2 separate regions of the Homo sapiens genome follow, and region 1 is linked to region 2. The links are contacts of gene promoters, found by promoter capture Hi-C in blood cells and fetal thymus (Javierre and others, 2016). All regions are on one chromosome and are shown on one strand. The core of a region is centred on a gene start or on the middle of the fragment in contact, and the rest is flanking DNA. Distances in the headings are between cores, read along the strand shown. Region 1 holds the start of VIP (vasoactive intestinal peptide). Region 2 holds the start of MYCT1 (MYC target 1).

Region 1 (7,081 bases), core at 3,765-6,264, 53 kb before region 2:
TAATTACTTCTTTAGAAGCTATGCTACCCTGAGCAACGTCATCTAAATATTTGACTGTTGGCCATTTGGAATTCTCCATTTAATTTGAGCAGGAAGTAAAAAGAATATTCTGTTTGACCTTAAAATTTACCTCAGTCTGTACTATCTCTTTTTGATTGTTTTACTGAGTCTTGTTCAATTTGATTGCAGATTGCTAAATGATTGCTACTTGAGAAAAATGTGTGTCTGGAGTCAATGAATATGATATTATGAAAAAGTCTTAGTCCATGGGCTTGATAGATGTTATTGAAGAATACAAGTTATTTCATTTAACTAAATTAAACATTATCAACGAGTTTTCAATTTCAAACAAAGTAAATAACTTGTTAAGAGTGAAAATACAATATTCAGATTGAATAATGATAACATATTTTATAAAAATAATAAATTCTCTTTACCTAACACGTTTTCCCATAAGAGACTCAAGGTACTTTTTGGCAGAAAGTTGACCCAAGAGTTTACTGAAGTCACTGGTGAAAACTCCATCAGCATGCCTGGCATTTCTAAAACAAGGAAGAAAAAAATAGCTATTATTTTGTAAATGGCTTTCTAGAATATTATTATGGCTTATTAAATAACAAAAAAATTATGGGCTTATTATGAAAGCTTCTCATTAAAACTAAAGTTCAAAAGGAGATTTCTTAACACCCTAACAAAAGAGATCTTCTAGTCACTTATATCAAGATATACCCTATATTTCTAGCCCAAGACACTGAAAAATTAAAGAAACAGGCATTTCTAGGAGCACATTTCAATATTCCTCCATGGTTGAATCTTTATAACTATTTCTTTCTAAGAAATATTGGTGTAAAAATATGATCTATTTAAATTAGCTGCTATTTGTACATGGTGCTTTGTGTCTGCCCCACTGAATAAAGACATTCACAATGGGAAAATATTCTGATTTTGGAAAGTTCATAAACCCCAGTACACCTTTTTTTTTCTTTTTCCAAAATATTTGGAAACAAAATCTCTTAAGATAGAGAAGGCATTAAGGCCTATCATCCCACCTTTTCTCTTTCAAATGAAGCACCTTTTATACTTTGTCTGTACCAAGTACTATAGAGCTACTTGGTCTGTACTTGAAATGATGCTCTAGACAAACAGCTCTATGAATGAACAGCTCTATCAGGTATCTTTTCTTTATATAGAGACAAAACTCCTTGGCAACTCTTCCATCATTGGAATGCTAAATGCTGTACTTTTATCAGAATTGGTACAATCTGTGATGTTGGAATTATGTGCAACAGAATGGAAGTGAATGGTGTGTTCATCCTGGCTTGTTACAACCTTTCAGTATGAAAATTATGTACAGCTGTAAGATCTGCAGTAAATCAGGATGAATGAAGCCATGACACATAGAAACCTCTAGTGTTTTGCTATCGGAATAGCTTCATGGTGAGATAAAATAAGCACGTTTATAGTTCTTAAACACATTTTCTAAAATAAAACTCATTGGATAGTTTTATAAAAATAAACTCACCTGGATACATCATAATAGGGTGTGTCATTTTCAGCTAATGCATTTTGCAACATGTCAATGTCTTCTTTTAATGAAACTTGATCAGGTTCATTTGCTCCCTCAAAGGGTATTCTGTCACCCAACCTGATGGGGAAAGTTACACGAGAATAATACATTCTTTTTTCAGAAGACAGTGTGTATGGTTCCGCAACCATTTAAAATAAGATACTTAGACTCTTGGGAAGTATTACCCAGTCATAATATGAGAATAGCATAATTTGACTTAATGGCTCATATAGTTAATGAGAGTATAAATAGGAAATTCCTATTATCCTATAAAGTAGATGCCATATGACTTTTATAAGCTGAATATACAAAACACAAGAGCTACTTAATTCAATCTTATCAGAGCATTAAGCAAACTATACTTCTTTGGTGTAATTTACTATGCCAAGAATATCTTCACTTTGCAAAGTCAAATTTCGTATGTAGAAATATTTTATGCAAAATAGAAACTTGCAAAAAACTAATATTGAATGAGAACTGATAACAATTTATGGATTTGGTGATGTTCAGTATTACCTGTTCCAAACATCTCTGAAGAACAGAGTATTAACTGCTTCTCTCTCTCTCGACCCCCAAGCTTTGCTTCAAATATTTACTTTGGCATTATATATTTCTCTGTATTGACAGAGTTCAAAGAATGTCTCCATAGATGGATAGCTCATCTATGAAGATGAATTTGAATTCAATAAGTTTTATGGGGCCTTCTTTTTTCTAATCTTATGTATTAACACAACTTTAATAAGGGATGTACAATGTTACACTGAAAGACTAAGAATAGTCAAATGCATATATGGAATATGACTATATTTATGGATGCATGCATATTTCAATCACCGGCAACTCTTATAATTTTGTGTGTGCAGATTTTCACTGTTAGGGCAAACATCCAAGGAGCGTGTCAGCTCCTGGACACTTGTGTATCTTTCAGTGATTTGGGAGTTGGGAGTCACTAGCAACTAGTCCTCTGTGGGTCTGAAGCTTAGCAATCAACACAAATGTCCACATTCTTGTGATTGTTCATCTGCTGTGGTAGAACTATTCAGATAGAACCATTTTGTTTAGTTATCAAAGCAACGCAGGAGCTGTATTTAAACAGATTTCACAGAGAACACTAATAGCTAAGAGGTTATTCTCTCTGTTGAGCATAAGTCTACCTTAAGCAAAAAATCAAGAATGACCTAATAAGCAAAGAAGGAAACCAACCCAATTATTATTTTTCCTTTGGAGATACAGTGGTGCCCGTAAACTGAAAGGAAAATTCAAGCTAATATAGTTTTCATTTATTGTTTACTTCTTTAGCATACATTAATAAAGTTTTAAATAAGAGTTGTGTTATACTTTATGGATTTGGAATATATAATATAACATATAGAACAATAAAACTAAGGATTTATGGTCCAAACAAAGTATATCAAAATTTTCCTATTGGGGGAGTGTATCTCAATAGATCAATTACCCCATATTTAATATTGGCAAATTGACTCTGCCTAGATAGATTTCTGTGCAACATGATTTTATACATGTTTCACTAATCAACTACTAGTCTTATGATTATTTACTGATTAATCTTGAAAATAAACTCAAATGTGGTTGGCAACTAAACAGCTTTTTTCCACCAGAAATTGAACTGACTTGAGATAACAATGGATAAAAGCTTATTATTTATCTAAAGATGGTTTTGAATAAAAAGAAAGTGAAAGCCTCCTTTCACCATGTTTGGGAATGTGATCCACTCAGCCCATAAAACTAATAACTGACAGTGTCTCTCATGCCCTGAAAGTGAATTCCAGGACTCAGAATGACCTGATGTTGACAAACACCTCTCACTCAACACATCAAGGAAAAATTTAAATACATAATACATAATTTATACTATTTAGTTGTCCAACAAAATGTATAGGAAATTCCCATTTAGATGAGGAAGGAATGTTCAGATGTTTGAATTGAAAGGGAACTTACCTGAGAGCAGAAGGTGCCCTGTAAAGAGGCCATGCCGAAGTCTGTGAGAAGAGCACACTGAGAAGAGTCAGGAGCACAAGGAGCTGGGCCTTATTTCTGGTGTCCATTTCTGTGCCTCTAAAGAGAGAGAATCACCTCAGTTCTTCCAGCCAAAGATGTCACCAGCAAGGTAATTCTGATTGTCTAGCAGTAATTTTCAATGGCTCTTGCAGAGTTTGTAAAGAGTAATTTTCATCTTGTAGAAAGAGTTAAATTGCAAGATGATACATTCAAAAATCAGTATTTCTCTCAGTGACAGGTGCTTGAATAAAAATTAGAATCCTTTTCACCTGCTGTCTGGGCACATGGTTGGCCCCAGTATCTATTGAATGCCATACTTCTATAGTGCTGGAAATAACCCTGGGGACAATCTTTTCATAACAGGGATGTACCACTCAAGCTTAGTGTATTTTTTGACGAAGGAAACAGCTTCAAGACATTGATTTTCTTCTGCTTTAAAATTTCAGTATCTGACTAATATAAGACTAGAGTATCATCTATTTAATAATTATTCTGCTCGTGTGTGTGCAAATGTATAAATATAATGTGTATATATACATATAATTTTAAAAAAGATTTTGTATATACATTACTTTTTCCTCTTTCAATTGTAGATATTACGGAAACTTATTTCCTTACACCTGGATTTGAACTTCTTAACTCAGTAGTGAATATTAATACTCAAAATATTACTGAATCATATGTTGTCATTGAAATAAATTTTTCCATAAGAGGAAAATATATATTAAAAGCAAAGCTTGCATTTCTTGCATTTAATCAACTTACACATTTCATTTCTAGTTTCTAGATTAAAAGCCTAGGAGTAAGGTCTGTTTCTCTTGCTGCCTATAAAAATTATGGAATTTAAACTTAAGGAAAAAATAAATGCATCTTAGATTCACTTAACCAACATACGAAATAGGAAAAAAAAAGCACTTTAAAAATAAGTTGAAAATTTCAAAAGCAAATGTTCCCACTGAAATTTTCAGTCAAAAATCTACATACAAGTAAACTTTACTTGAATGAATTATTTGTAAAAATCAGTATTCAGTAAAAGAGCAAGCAGGGTAAAGCATCTTACAAACAAAAGAATTCAGAAAATCTATCCATATGAGAGAAATTGAAGTATTTCTATCCTTACCAGGTGACTTGAGAAACTTGTTTTTTGCTGTTGCAAAAGCAAAGCACTATCAAATTCTTTTCAAGAGAGAAAAATTCATTATTTTGTGAGAAAAGTTCCAGAGGCAGGAGGGAAAAAGAAGAGGAAAGGTAAAGTTTTCACTTACCTCGCCCAGTCGTGCTCCCCCGGAGCTGACTGTTCTGGTTTGTTTTGGAGCTGTCTTAGGTGCTGAAGTCCTGGGAGTAAGAGAAAGGCTCCACCAGTTCTCTGCCCTTAGCAATGGCTAAGGGTTGGCTGTTACTGCCTGCTGGTGCTTCTCACTCTACCCTGACCAGCATTTCAAAGCCCATCATTTTATAGGGCTTATACTTAGGACTGAGCAATCACAAAGTGCTCTGAAAGACGTCACAGTATGACGGCCATGGGATGAATAGGGCTTGAAGTTCTTACTTAATTGTCATTATGCCTAATTTATATAAGTTTATAGTGAGCAACTTCAAAATGTAAGATAAGAGGAAATTTACTTTTCTTTAAACAAACAAAGTAGCAAGCTCAATGTGAAATGTTTTAACCTTTAATTAATTGTAAAATAAGAAAATGATTGTAGTGTTATAGCCAGGGCCATTGGGATTCCTTCAGAAAATAAAGACTTCATGTGTAGAAACAAATGCATAAAGCAACAAACACTTATGTTCATTACGCTTATAAAAGTATAATTATACTTTATTACAAAGTATCAATTCTCTTAATATTTTTAATTTTTATGCTATTCATATAGTTCCAGATTTAATCTTTCTTGAAATCTATCCTAACTTTAAAAGCTCTAGAGATAATTTTCACCTTCCTATTATTACATTTCGTCTTTGTTGAAACTAATTCCAAGATAAGTGTTTCAGAAAGTCTCTAAGATAGTAAGATATGCACGCTGTTGTACAAAGCAGTACAAGTAGTGCTATTTCATATTTGTATAAAATGGCACAATTCCCAATGCACTTTTACATACACTGTGTCAAATGATCCAAAAAATAAATTGTTGTCAGGCTATATACCTCAAGGAATTTAATTGTCTTTTCTTTTTAAAGATTTTCCTCATCACTTTTATAAGTCTTTGCATAATGTAGAATTAGTTTTCTACCCTCATCCCCAACACACACACATACTCAAACCAGTTTTGAACATTTCTGATTCAATCACTTGACAGGTGGCTTCAAATAGTTGAAAAGCATTTATATAGTACTTTGATAAATACTTCACTTCTATTTGTGGATTTGTAACTAAAGGTAGTCTAGCACACATTCAATCAGAGTTTAAGGTAAAAATGCAGCCACATGAAAAATTTCCTAAACAACAGAGGAAAATGCCATTTTTCCTTTTATTTTAAAGGCTTTCTGCCATGTGTATTATTTTTACATTTTGTTTCTAAGTTTCATAAGACAGAATGGCTTTACAGTCCTCTTTCTTCTACTTTAAGATTGTAGTATCTATTTCCTTCGTTCAAAGTCAGACTGATCCAGTAAAAGAATATCCTGCTATGCTTAATCATATTTTCTAATCCAGTTACCAGAAAAATTAAATGAATTAAGTTTCAAAATGTCTGGAAATTTGTTTCCCAGTTGACAGCTCTGACTTAAGCCAGAGTTCCTGTGGCTTAATTCCAGGAAATCTTTTTTACCTGATTATTACAAACTAGAGGTTGAAACAGTTCTCATATGGAATTTTTTTATCCTTAGCTCTTCATCACCCAATTCTTAGTGAACCAATTTTATTTAAGAGCAGAAACAGCAAAGCAACTTAATTGAGGGTCACAGACAAATGACTGCTGAATGATAAGAAGAAAAATTTTAAACATAAAAGATGTAAAGCTGATCATTATTTGGCCTAGGCAAGCACTTAGCATTTACAAAGAGTAACTATAGTAGCTTTTCCCAATACAAAAGACAATTGCTTCTATTATAATAATAATAAGATAAAATAAAAAGAAATAATTCAATTTTATTACCTCTGAATAAAAGTAAACTCAACCAAACAACTGCATTTTCTCTTATGAATTTAAACTAGAAAGCAAAACAATTTGAAAATGGAATCATAGCACCATCTGCAGGTTCAAAGTTTTAATTCACAGACTTTATAGAATTGTGTTTATTTCTTCTTTTCTTTCAAGGAAATGAATTGTAAACCAGAGGTCCTGTAGCCAGCTTAACTTTTGGATGCTTCCAGAAAAAATAAACATAAGAAAAAGTACTGCAGTCAAATTTATCCTGAATTCTCGGTTACCATAAAACTTAGTAAATAAGTACAAAGATACAAACTTGAATTTACTGTTTAAATGTGTCTTTTCCGTACTTTGACATATTCTTCCATAATTTGCCTACATTTCTGGCAAAGTTTATTTTTGC
Region 2 (6,607 bases), core at 2,584-5,083:
AGATTTCGGCAGTGAAAATCAGAGAAAGGGCAATGTCTCAAAAGCTGATGAGAAATACATGTCAGTAGATGTCAGCAGAGGCCAGAACTTGATCAAGCACAAAGGTCCCCCCTCTCCAATACACAGAATATATAACCCCTCCACCCCTCCACCCATCCACACACCCTCTCCAACCTTAAAGAAAATTCCCAGAGGGAGGAATATGGAGAGATTATAAATCACTGGATTGCAAGTGATCAGGCTTAATTAGATCAAACTTTCACGCTGACATTCAAATCTTGCAGAAATCTGCCTCCAACCTGCCTTACAAACTATGTCCCTGAAACGACCACACACAGAATCTCTAGCCAAGACGTTCTTTTCTCCACAAACATGCCTGGGTGTTTTTACTTCTGCATATTTGCTGGTGACATTTTTCCTGAGCTCCCCAAACCTCTTGAAATGCCTTATTTGTGTCACTGACTCCTAACACATTGCCTAATATGGTCAGCGAACGCTTCTGAGTGAACTAATGAACTGGATGAGAATGAGTTGGTGAGGGAAAAAAATGAATGACTAGAATGTCCTTCTTAGAATTATCTCCCTGTCTGAAATTTATCTTTCTAGGAACAGATAGCACCTCATTTTTTTTCTGAGAAAGATTTAGGGATTATTTCTGCCATATATTGTTTTAACTCATATTATCAACCATTGCTATTTTATCATATGTTATCTTGTATTATTCCACAACTATATAGGTTTGTATGTGCATATGTAGCATATGTATAGACGCATAATTGCCTCCAAGAGCATAATCCTTTTGAGACAGACATTGTACTTTTGGTGAGAATTGAATTAAGTGAATAAATGCAAACTCCTGCAACCACATCTTCCCCCAACTTTTCACAAAGCTAGCCATAAGGAAAAAAATGCAAAGCAAGACAGCAGAAACAACCAAAACTACGTCTTCTACAGGACTCTCAAGTACTGAGAGAATAACTGAGTTCAGTATTTGTCTCCTATTGCCTTAGAGGAGGACATGGCAAATTTTCACGGGCCATGTTTCCTGCAGCTTTCATGGGAATGTTTATAGAGAAAGGAAGTGCGTTAAAGAAAGCAAAAATAGGGAGTGGAAGGTGATAGTCTGCATCTGTGTTGTCACTTTCAGGCTAACTTTGTTGCCAACCCTTGCACTTAAATGCTTGCACACCTTTAGGAAGTTTTAGTGGGTGATAGCTATGAAAATGCAAGCTATTGTTTTTGGTAATAACCCGATATTATTATGCCATCATTTAGCGCTCATTAAAGTAAACCAGAAAAGTTATATTGGGAAAACAACTTTTTCTGTACCTTAAAGTGTGCTACGTCTGAGCAATTTATATGGTTCAATGTACAAGTTTTCCTTTTCTAAGCTGTTTTTCTTTATTTTCCAAATTCAATGTGCCAAGCAGATGACTGATTTTGGAAGCAATAACAATGCATTACACTGCATTGTACAAGATTCTCAAAATAATATTTTTGAGGAGTCAGTGGTCAAAATAGACATCAATTTAGATACACAAAAGCAATGGAAATTTAAAAGATTGACATTTATATTTCAGGAAATGTATACATTTTATATGTTTATATTTTTATTCACATTTTATACTTCATATTTTTACCCCAGAGGCAATAATACAATCTTTTATATATTTTCCTAAAATCATCAAACATTATATCTGCTCTCCATGTTTCCATTGGCTTTGTTAATGTTTATCAATGTAACACTCCCCTTTCTGGTTTTCATTATTTTCATCTAATTTTCATTACAGTCACATAACAAGAGAAAGGAAAAACTAGTATTTGGCTTTGAAATAACAGGTTTTAATTCCCTCTTAAGCACAGATTTCCATATTAAAAATATCTAAATTTTTAGAATCAATAGGTGAACTCCAACTAAACATTCTCTTATTAATATCAAGTTTATTTTAATCTTTTAGTCAGTGAATAATGATTTGTTTTTTTAAGTAAACCTGAAATTTAATTTTGAATGGTTTGAAAAAAATAGATTGACTTCTACATATTAATTTTTGCAAAAACTACTTTACTTTTGAATAATTTATACAGAACACTTTTATAATGATGAATTTGATTTAGACAGACTCTAGCTCTTTTTCAGTGTGCATTTAGCACTTATTTTCTCTATAAGTGAGGACAGCAAATAATATTTTAACAAGCATATAATCAGACATCTACAATTCAAAGGCTTCTGTCTAGTGCTAGCTACCTAAAATAACCTATTACCAAAGCCTTTCTTTACAATGTACTAGAATAATCTTTTTTCTTCTTCTTAATTCTGTTACATAAATTTATTAGGAGCTCACCAATATCCTTCCTTTTCAGTCTTCCAGCAAACATAAATGTAGGTGAGAAAAAAAGAATGAGTTAATTCTTTTTTTTCTTATGCTGAATTTTAATATCTTTTAAAACCAATAAATATTTGTCCCCACATTTTTCATCTAAGAAAGTACATAGGTTAAAGGACTGGAGTGAATTCTTTTCATGCAAATTTCTGTGATGGTAGACATATAGATTGCTGGGAAAAGTCGGCCACTACTGCTCACTGTTTATGTGAAAGTTCCCAAAACCCCACCTTGAATCACAGCAGAAAGTCTGAATTGTACACTGAGAGGATTAAAAACTTGTTCTGGCCATATAAACAGATCTGTCCATATATACTATTTTCTTCATTAAAGTGTTTTTCTGAATTTAATTTAAATTGCCTCCTTTAATATAAAAATTTCCCTGAACCCAAGAGTACATGTCAACTCCCCATGTGAGCCCATCTTCTTTGTACCTCTAACCTGGAGCAACTGAGTTTTGACCTCAGCACAGTCCCATTGTCAACATCAGGGAACACTGGACTGTTAGCTGTGGCTGGACTCAGACAAAAAATTCTCCAAAAAATACTTTTGTATTGTTCTTTCCCCCCAACCCCTGTGATAGGATTCCATTGAATGTTACACGTGATGTTATTTCCACTTAATCTTTTCTACTATAGTTTTCTCAAATTTCATATTATTCCATGTTTTATTTGTTATACTCTAAAGTCATTCATTTATTTTACCTGTGTTATTGCACTTTAAATTCACTCATTTAAGTACAGATGTTATTAGGATTCACTTTGGAAATTAAAGCATATAACATTCACAACATAAGTGAAAATAGCCTCTATGGAAAATCTCAGTTTCATAAAATAAAATATATAATCTATAACCTTCAAACAAATGAAAGTTAATTTTTCCAACAAAATCTACATGCCATATTCTAAGCAGGAATTACCTCCACCTTATGTTTTTTATTTTTATCCTCACTATTTCCTAATTATATTTTGTAACACCAGCCAAAATCTGTACTTAATACCCAGATTCTTCTTGAATATCTTCATAGAACACTATAAAGACAAATAAATATATAAGTATATATTTATATCTATAAATATATTTCTGCTAATAAACGTATGAAATAGATTTCTGTTAATAAACATGAAAACTTTAAGTAATCACATTATAGTAAACAAAATGTCTCAGAGATTTTCACTGTTTTAATAATCACGCAGTGCATTTCTTACATCCTAATTTTAAATTTTAAACAGTAAAAGAAAATACCTTACCCCAAAAGTTTTCTGGCCATGGACTCCCTAAACTTGTTGTGTTATTAGCCATAATATCCACAAGAAATAGAAGAAAGAGAAGAAAAACAGAAAGAAAAACCAGTATGTCGAAAAAAAGCAGTTTGATTCTATCTCTTTGTAGTACAGCAAGAGAAAAATAATTTTTACACAACCCCTCATATACTTGTGTTCGCATAAAAGGAAATAAGTGTATCATGTTTCCTGCTTTTATACTCAAATTAGCAACTGTTTTTCTTATCTTGGAATTCCACATGGTTCCTGAGACACAAAACAATGTCCTTTTCATCATTTCCTCAGCTAAGTTCCTAAGTTCTCTCCTCTCAGCCACCTCCAAAACTGCTTTTAGGATAACAGGGTTGTGTGTGTGTGTGTGTGTTTGTGTGTGTGTGTGTGTGTGTTTCCTCATCCCCTACTGACATGGAAAGGAAGACTCCAAACTCTCAGCTACAGCACCTTGAATTAAATGTATACAGAATTGAGAAATAGACCACGTTCCAATGCTTGAAAATTAAATTTATATAGTAAATTGGGGGAAAGGACTATTCAAAACTCAGATACTTACTAAATTCTTTGTTGTTGTTGTTGTTGTTGTTTTTGAGACTTAGTCTCGCTCTGTCGCCCAGGCTGGAGTGCAGTGGTACGATCTCGGCTCACTGCAACCTGCCCCTCCCAGGTTCAAGCGATTCTCCTGCCTCAGCCTCCAGAGTAGCTGGGATTACAGGCGCGTGCCACCACACCCGGCTAATTTTTGTATTTTTACTAGAGATGGAGTTCCACCATGTTGGCCAGGCTGGTCATGAACTAGGCCTGACCTCAAGTGATCCACCTGCTTTGGCCTCCCAAAGTGCTGGGATTACAGCCATGCGCCACTGCGCTCGGCCACTATATTCTTAACATGTCTGTTTCTCTATTTGGTATACAAATTTTGAAAGTTATTTAATTCATTTCATAAATATCTAAGTGTAATTTATATAAAATTTGTGTTACTCTTTACTTAGTATTTAGTATGAAAAAACAGTTTCTACATTGAAGAAATATATTTAAAATCAAGGAGGGAAAACATAAATGCAAAATTTTTCATTACAAAGTTTGTTAAGTGCTATAACAAAGGGTACAACGATCTCAGGAATTTGTTTTTTATAGAGAAGTTTGAGAACTGATATAGGAAAGAGTTACATGAAACATTTTGAGAAACACAAGTTAGTTAACATTTCAAGAGTCTTTCCTCAAGCTTTGCTTGTTTAGACTGGATCCTCTGAGGACTTTGGAGGCACTGGAAATTGTGAATAACGTGTCAAACTGCACCTAGTAACTGCGCTAAACTGCATTCCATGATCTGGCTTCATCAATCTTTGAGTAACTCTAGCCTGAACTCTTGCATATATCTTGTATTAATCATATTCTAACTTATTAGTCATTAGAATATGACTTAGTGCAAAGTAGTATTCCTCTTTGTGAAGTCTGTAATATATTCCTGAGTAGTTCTAAGAAAACAACAAAAAAAGACAGTTATATTAATTTTTGCAGTCCTGCTTCTTCCAAAATGAGGTTGTTTCTGATCAGTCTCATTTTTTTGTGAATTTAAGTATAAATTTATTAGAAATTAAAATATAAATCATCTAAGAGAATTATAAAACGTCATAGAAAATTTAGAGAATTCACTGAGCAAATATAAAGACTCACCTCTATAATATTCTTGCTAAAGTTTATTTTCAAATAATCCAGTAAATAAAAGCTCCTACTATTACTTAACAGACAAAAAGGGCTTACATTTCAACAGTTGTCTTTACTTTTCAATATTGTTAACAAAGTTCATAAAAATAGAAAATTAAAAGAACATGTTATTTCTGAAGAAAATGTAATCTGGATGAAAGTATATTGAAATACTAATCACTTTACTGTTCTAAAAGCATCGAGTACGATTCTTAATTACTAAATGTATTTTTAAATACACATTTTGCATTATTAAAGGTTACCTGATTGCAATAAATCCTAATTTCAAAGGTGTATATAATTTCCTAAACACTGCATAGATTGCATTTTCCTTAAAATAAACCAAAATGAGTGGAATGGGTAACTGACATTGTCTCAACTGCCTTCTGTGCAGAAACAGAGCTCATTCCATTTCAGGGCTGGGATACAGGCTGACACTTCCTTTCATTGTTCTATGTTGAACTATGCAGATTTTCTCCCAATGGGTTTTCATTTTTGCAGATGGCCACAACCCAGTCAAAACTCTAAAGAAAATGTGTTTCTTAAATCAGTTTATGACCTAGGAATAGCTTGCTTGTGGACAGCACTGGCTCTTGTCTGTGTATGTAATTTGCTTGGTAAGGGTTCATACCTTTCCCTGGCATGGATCTATCTAAGTGAATGTTTATGTCTACGTGATTTTTGAGTCCCATGACTTGTCATGCCACAACAGGAACTTGATTTTTATCTTTACAAAACTGTTAGGTTTGCTTTTCTACTGCTCATTATTTCATAACCTGGGTCTTTAGGTCTGGGTTCTCCAGTGGTCATAAAGTACATTGAGAAGTTTGTTCTTGCCTCAGATATTCACATGACTTCCTCACTCTCCTCATTCACGTCTCTGGCCAGAAGTCACTCTTCAACAGGCACTCGCTAACCACCCTGTCTAAAGTGTTCCCACTTAAACCATGCTCTGTCTCCTGACCCTATGTTATTTATCATACCCTGACATTATGCTATATATGTGTCTTAGTCTGTTCCAGCTGCTATAACAAAATATCCTAAACTGGGTGGCTTTAAAACAACAGAAATTTATTTCTCAATTCTAGAGGCTGGGAAGTTTAAGATCAAGGGGTTGGCAGGTCAGTGTCTGTTGAGGGCTCGCTGTCTCGTTGACAGTCATCTTCTCGTTGTGATCCCACACTGTGCAAGGAGTGAAGGGTCACTTTCAGCCTCTTTTATAAGGACACTAATCCCATTCAT

Evidence for each region. Contacts are between HindIII fragments. The CHiCAGO score rates a contact against its expected background, and 5 or more counts as called.
Region 1: the fragment with the promoter of VIP here is called in contact with the fragment with the promoter of MYCT1 in region 2 in 1 of 17 cell types (neutrophils); the score reaches 5.8 in neutrophils.

Annotation. Positions count from the first base shown.
Region 1 is chr6:152,748,730-152,755,810 of GRCh38, reverse strand. It overlaps VIP (vasoactive intestinal peptide), which reads right to left and starts at 5,014. Exons shown (of 7, transcript NM_003381.4): 1 at 4,852-5,014; 2 at 3,527-3,643; 3 at 1,523-1,645; 4 at 438-542. The coding sequence starts at 3,633. LINC02840 (long intergenic non-protein coding RNA 2840) reads left to right here. Exons shown (of 5, transcript NR_183508.1): 5 at 1-935. The HindIII fragment of the contact is 3,260 bases long and covers 4,325-7,081 here.
Region 2 is chr6:152,695,123-152,701,729 of GRCh38, reverse strand. MYCT1 (MYC target 1) reads right to left here and starts at 3,833. Exons shown (of 2, transcript NM_025107.3): 1 at 3,632-3,833. The coding sequence starts at 3,827. The HindIII fragment of the contact is 10,649 bases long and covers 1-4,885 here.